Regions from separate parts of the Homo sapiens genome. Here region 2 is linked to region 1. The links are contacts of gene promoters, found by promoter capture Hi-C in human tissues and cell types (Jung and others, 2019). All regions are on one chromosome and are shown on one strand. The core of a region is centred on a gene start or on the middle of the fragment in contact, and the rest is flanking DNA. Distances in the headings are between cores, read along the strand shown. Region 1 holds the start of TMEM221 (transmembrane protein 221). Region 2 overlaps ABHD8 (abhydrolase domain containing 8).

Region 1 (3,229 bases), core at 193-2,692:
ATGATTGTACAACACTAAATGCCACTGAATAAAATGATTAATTTTATGTTATGTAAGTTTCATCTCGATTTTTTTAAAGTGCTGTGCGAATAATTTGGGGGACCAGTTGGGGAAGGGATCCAGGATTCTCCCTAGCCTCCTAGAGGAAGCAACGGTTACCCAAAGGCTTGAAGGAAGTAAGCAGAGGGGAAATCACAGCCAATGACAGAGTCCCTGGGTTGAGATCAAATGAAAAGTGAATTTTTAAATTTTGTTATTTCTTTTTTGAGACACAGCCTCGCTCTGTCACTCAGGCTGGAGTGCAGTGGCGTGATCTCAGTTCACTGCAGCCTCGACCTCCTGGGCTCAAGCGATCCTCCTGTCTCAGTCCCGAAAGTAGCTGGGTCCACAGGCGTGCACCACCACACCAGGCTGACTTCCTTATTTTTTGTAGAGATGGGGTCTGGCTATGTTGCCCAGGCTGGTCTCAAACTCCTGGGCTTAAGCCATCCTCCTGCCTCAGCCTCCCAAAGTGCTGGGATTACAGTTGTGAACCACCTCACCCAGCCCTTTCTCTCTCTCTCTCTTTTTTTTTTTTTTTTTTTTTGATGGAGTCTTACTCTGTCAGCCAGGCTGGAGTGTGCAGTGGTGCAATCTCGGCTCACTGCAACCTCCGCCTCCCTGATTCAAGCATTCCTCCAACCTCAGCCTCCCGAGTAGCTAGGATTACAGGCCATGCACCACTACGCCGGGCTAATTTTTTTTTTTTTTTTTTTTTTTAGTAGAGACGGGGGTTTCACCATGTTGGCCAGGCTGGTCTTGAACTCCTGACCTCAAGTGATCCGCCCACCTCGGACTCCTAAAGTGCTGAGATTACAAGCGAGAGCCACCGCGCCCGGCCTCCTTTCTCTTTATTTTTTATTTTTTAATTAATTAATTAATTAATTTTGAGACGGAGTCTCGCTCTGTCGCCCAGGCTGCAGTGCAATGGCGTAATCTCAGCTCACTGAAACCTCCGCCTCCTGGGTTCAAGCAATTCTCCTGCATCAGCCTCCCGAGTAGCTGGGATTACAGGCTCCGGCCACCACGCCCGGCTAATTTTTGTATTTTTAGTAGAGACGGGGTTTCACCATATTGGCCAGGCTGGTCTGGAACTCTTGACCTTGTGATCCGCCCGCCTCGGCCTCCCAAGGTGCTGGGATTACAGGCGAGAGCCACCGCCCCCGGCCTCCTTTTTCTTGTTTTAAACCACAATACAATCGATGCTTAGGGCGGCAGGGGGCGGGGTGGTGCCCTTTTCTGAACTTAGCGAGCTGTGGGGTTCCCGCGATCCAGTCCCTAGTGGGGCCTCCCCGCCCTGCGCCCGGTGCCAGGCCCCGCCCCGCCAGGCCCAGCGGACCAAGAGGGGGCGCCCGCGGGGCCCCGGGAGGGAGGAGAAAAGACTTTGTCCCAAGTTTTCGCGGAGATTCGGCGTCCCGGCTGCGACCAGCACCCCGGAGCCCCCGTCCGTCTGGCGACCCCCAGCCCAGTCCCCGAACTTTCAGACACTCCCTGCGGCCCCGCCCCCTCGGGGACCCCCTGAGGACCCTCGGATTCCCCCCAACTCCCCTGCCCTCTAAAACCACTTCAATTCCTCAACTCTTCCCCCGGCCCGCAGGAACCCCCGCCATGGCCCGTTCTTACGGCGGCCGGGTGCTGGCTGCAATGACCCTGCTGGGCATCGCGGCGGCCGTGCTGGCGGCGCTGGGCGCGCAGCTGCTGTTTCAGCTGCAGGCGGGCCGCGCCGAGCTGCGGGGGCTGCGCGCCGAGGGGCTGGGCCAGGAGCTGGGCGCCGGCCCCGGGCTGCCAGAGGACGCGGCCGGGACGCTGCTGCCGCTGGCCGCCGCGCTGGCCGCGCTGGTGCTCGTGCTGGGGTTCACCTGCTTGCTGCTCGCCGCGCTCTGTGGCCACCTGGGCGCCGAGCTGGCGCGGGGGCCTGGCCCCAGGAGGTAGGAGGACTGGCCTCACCGCCTCGGAGGCCCGGCTGGGGGCTGGGTGAGCCTGGTTGAGCCTCTTCCCCTCTTTTGGCCTCAGGCTGGGGGGACAGCTTCCCTCCCCACTTCCCTCTCCCCACCACTCCATGTCTCTCTGCCTCCCTCCTTTCCTCTCCTCCTCCCTCCTTCCCTCCCTCCATTCTATATTTGTTCAATTTTGCAGCAGGTGCAACCACTGCTGTGTCTCGCATTTTGCAGATGAGGAAACTGAGGCTCAAAGAGGGTCCAGGATCAGCTTGCCTGGATCTCAAACAGGGGAGGCTGAGCTCTCAGGCTGTCTGGCTTGGAAGTGGGTGGGAGGCGGGACAGTGCTGGACTTGAACTTGGTTCTGGGTAGAGCCAGCCAGAGCCTGTGTCCTGGTCTGAAATTGAGTTCCTTCCTCAGGGACCTGAACTCAGTCAGGGATGTGGTCATTGAGGGACCCCTATCAGGGGCAGTGGTTGTGGAAGGAGGAACCCTCCTTGAGCTGAGGACTCCGCTGTCCCACATGGTAGTGTTTCTCTCCAGAATGTCGGGGGAGAGGAGCCCAAATTCTAGTCCAGAATTCTGTGAAATTGAGCAGATGAGAACTCCCACCATTGAGGTAGATCCTATCCAGACCATGCACCTTCCACCCAAGGGACAATGAAATGCATGGGTCCCACGGGTCAGCAAACATCTGTTGGGTGCCTGCCTGCAGGGGAATGGATCTGGCTCAGGGCATCAGAGACAGCGGGGACCAAGTGGACCCAGACCTGCTCTCATGGGGTCACAGAAAATAAGGAAACATAACAAGGACAAGGCATGGTGGTTCACACCTGCAATCCCAGCCCTTTGGGAGGCAGAGGCAGGAGGATCATTTGAGGCCAGGAATTTTTTTTTCTTTTTTTTTTTTTGAGACAGAGTCTTGCTCTGTCACCCAGGCTGGAGTGCAGTGGCGCTATCTCGGTTCACTGCAGCCTCCACCTCTTGGGTTCAAGCGATTCTCCCACCTTAGCCTCCCGAGTAGCTGGGATTACAGGTGCCCACCACCATACCCAGCTAATTTTTGTATTTTTAGTAGAGGCGGGGTTTCACCATGTTGGCCAGGCTGGTCTTGAACTCCTGACCTCAAATGACCCACCCACCTTGGCCTCCCAAAGTGCTGGGAGGCCAGGAATTTGAGACCAGCCTGGGTAATATAGCAAGACCTTGCCTCTACAAAAAGAAAAAATAATAATTAGCTAGGTGTGGTGGT
Region 2 (3,229 bases), core at 527-3,026, 150 kb after region 1:
CTTTCTGTGGCTCAGTCCCCATCCCCCTCTCCTAGGGCCTCACCTTTCAGGAGTCAAATTCAGAGCCAGGAGCCTCACTGGGGGCTCACCAAAGATTTGCATATTTTAGATGCCTTAGGAGGCCCTGGGGATATGTGAGTTAGTGAGTGCATACCTGGATGAGTTAGTGAGTTAGTGTATACCTGAATGAATGAGTTAGTGTATACCTGAATGGATGAGTTAGTGTATACCTGAATGAATGAGTTAGGAGGCCATAAATGGTATAAACTCCAGCTGGGGGGAGGGGGTGTCTTCCGGCTGGTCCACATTTGCCACAATGTCCCCTTCTCCAGGAACATCCCCACACAAGACGCCACCACCTTCCCTGTGGACACCCTGTGGGGTAAGCCATAGCCAAGTCTTTCTCTCTGAGGATAGACTAGGGTGACCCAGGAGGGTAACTACCACAAAGGCACTGCTCAGACAAAACATGTCAGTGCACGGTGGCTCACACCTATAATCCCAGCACTTTGGGAGGCCGAAGCAGGAGGAAAATTTGAGGTCAGGAGTTCAAGACCAGCCTGGCCAACATGGTGAAACCCCATCTCTACAAAAAATACAAAAATTAGCTAGACATGGTGGCACCTGCCTATAATCCCAGCTACTCAGGAGGCTGAGGCAAGAGAATCGCTTGAACCCAGGAGGGGGAGGTTGCAGTAAGCCGAAATCCGGCCACTGCCCTCCAGCCTGGATGACAAAGCGAGACTGTCTCAAAAACACACACACACACACACACACACACACACACAAACAAAAAAATCTCAGTGCCGTGGCTCACTTGATCTGGCGCTCCCCAAACTGGAGTCTAAAACAGTTCTCCCAAGGCTCAGGGAGTGCCTGCTGCACGGTGCAGGGTTCTCATTGAGACAGCACCTGAACTGGCTGCTGTCCTCACTCACAGGACACACCATGCTGACCGGGGTGACCGACGGTATCTTCTGTTGCCTGCTGGGCACGCCCCCCAACGCCGTGGGGCCACTGGAGAGCGTCGAGTCCAGCGATGGCTACACCTTTGTAGAGGTCAAGCCCGGCCGCGTGCTGCGGGTGAAGCATGCAGGACCCGCCCCAGCCGCTGCCCCACCTCCACCATCATCCGCATCCTCGGATGCAGCCCAGGGGGACCTCTCCGGCTTGGTCCGCTGTCAGCGCCGGATCACCGTGTACCGCAATGGGCGGTTGCTGGTGGAAAACCTGGGCCGAGCCCCTCGAGCCGACCTCCTACACGGGCAGAATGGCTCTGGGGAGCCGCCGGCCGCCCTGGAGGTGGAGCTGGCAGATCCGGCGGGCAGCGATGGCCGCTTGGCCCCCGGCAGCGCAGGCAGCGGCAGCGGCAGTGGCAGTGGTGGGCGGCGGCGGCGAGCCAGGCGCCCCAAGAGGACCATCCATATTGACTGTGAGAAGCGCATCACTAGCTGCAAAGGCGCCCAGGCCGACGTGGTGCTCTTTTTCATCCATGGTGTCGGCGGTTCCCTGGCCATCTGGAAGGAGCAGCTGGACTTCTTTGTGCGCCTAGGCTATGAGGTGGTGGCTCCTGACCTGGCCGGCCACGGGGCCAGCTCTGCGCCCCAGGTGGCCGCAGCCTACACCTTCTATGCGCTGGCTGAGGACATGCGAGCAATCTTCAAGCGCTATGCCAAGAAGCGAAATGTGCTCATTGGCCATTCCTACGGGTAAGTGAACCCTGGCATGTGGGGTGGGGGTGAGGGATGGGGTCAGCAGGGACTACAGTCACAAAATACTGAGTTTTTGGCTGAGCCCCGTGGCTCACGCCTGTAATCCCAGCACTTTGGGAGGCCGAGGCAGGCGGATCACCTGAGGTTGGGAGTTCGGGAACAGTCTGGCCAAGGTGGTGAAACCCCGTCTCTACCAAAAATACAAAAATTAGCCAGACGTGGTGGCACGCGCCTGTAGTCCCAGCTACTCGGGAGGCTGAGGCAGAGGAATCACTTGAACCGAGGAGGTGGAGGTTGCAGTGAGCCGAGATTGTGTCACTGCACTCCAGCCTGGGCGACAGAGGGAGACTCTGAGATGCCACTGACACCTGTAATCCCAGTGCTTTCGGGGGCCAAGGCGGGAGGATATCTTGAGGCAAGGAGTTTGAGACCAGCCTGGGCAACATAGGGAGAACCCCCTAGCTCTACAAAAAGTACAAACATTAGCTAGGTGAGGAGGTGCACGCATATAGTTCCACCTACTTAAGGGCTGAGGCAGGAGATTGCTTGAGTCTGGGAGGTCGAGGCTGCAGTGAACTGTGATCACACCACTGCACTCCAGCCTGGGCAGCATGGCAAGAACCTGTCGCTCTTTAAAAAAGAAAAAAAAATCCGGGCGCGGTGGCTCACGCCTGTAATCCCAGCACTTTGGGAGGCTGAGGCGGGCGGATCACGAGGTCAGAAGATTGAGACCATCCTGGCTAACACGGTGAAACCCTGTCTCTACTAAAAATACAAAAAATTAGCTGGGTGTGGTGGTGGGCACCTATAGTCCCAGCTACTCGGGAGGCTGAGGCAGGAGAATGGCATGAGCACGGGAGACGGAGCTTGCAGTGAGCCAAGATCATATTGTGCCACTGCACTCCAGCCTGGGCGACAGAAGGAGACTCCGTCATGAAAAAAAAAAAAGGGGCCACCACGCGCGGTGGTGCACATTTGTAATCCCAGCACTTTGTGGATGGATCATTGGAGATGAGTTTGGACAACATGGCAAAACCTTATCTCCTAAAACAAAACAAAGCAAACAAAAATCCTAATTTTTCTCCTTGAAAAAAATCCCATTTTTCAATTTAATTTTTACATTTTTAAAATTTTTTTTTCTTTTAAATAGAGATGGCATCTCACTATGTTGCCCAAGATGTTCTTTAACTACTGGGCTCAAGTGATCCTTGCACCTCAGCCTCCCAAAGTGCTAGGACTACAGGTGTGAGTCATTGTGCTCAGCCTTAATTTTTTTTTTTTTTTTTTTTTTTGAGATGGAGTCTCACTCTGTCCCCCAGGCTGGAGTGCAGTGGCGTGATCCTGGCTCACTGCAAGCTCCACCTCCCAGGTTCATGCCATTCTCCTGCCTCAGCCTCCCTAGTAGCTGGGACTACAGGCACCCGCTACCATGCCTGGCTAATTTTTTGTCTTTTTAGTACAGACGGGGTTTCACCGTGTTAGCCAGGATGGTCTCGATCTCCTGACCTCGTGATTCG

Evidence for each region. The method cuts DNA at HindIII sites, captures the fragments that hold promoters and counts their contacts. A contact is called where the count stands out against the background at its distance.
Region 2: a fragment that was not itself captured here is called in contact with the fragment with the promoter of TMEM221 in region 1 in 2 of the 25 tissues and cell types used here (lymphoblastoid cells and mesenchymal stem cells).

What each region holds. Positions count from the first base shown.
Region 1 is chr19:17,446,881-17,450,109 of GRCh38, reverse strand. It overlaps TMEM221 (transmembrane protein 221), which reads left to right and starts at 1,442. Exons shown (of 3, transcript NM_001190844.2): 1 at 1,442-1,967. The coding sequence starts at 1,648. RefSeq lists a silencer at 1,309-1,428. The HindIII fragment of the contact is 11,612 bases long and covers 1-3,229 here.
Region 2 is chr19:17,299,336-17,302,564 of GRCh38, reverse strand. ABHD8 (abhydrolase domain containing 8) reads left to right here. Exons shown (of 5, transcript NM_024527.5): 2 at 941-1,709. The coding sequence starts at 949. It also overlaps a transcript of MRPL34 not described here. Among named protein-coding and RNA genes, the nearest start is that of ABHD8, 2.5 kb to the left of the region's middle. RefSeq lists a silencer at 1-245 and enhancers at 603-1,103, 1,104-1,604. The HindIII fragment of the contact is 7,858 bases long and covers 1-3,229 here.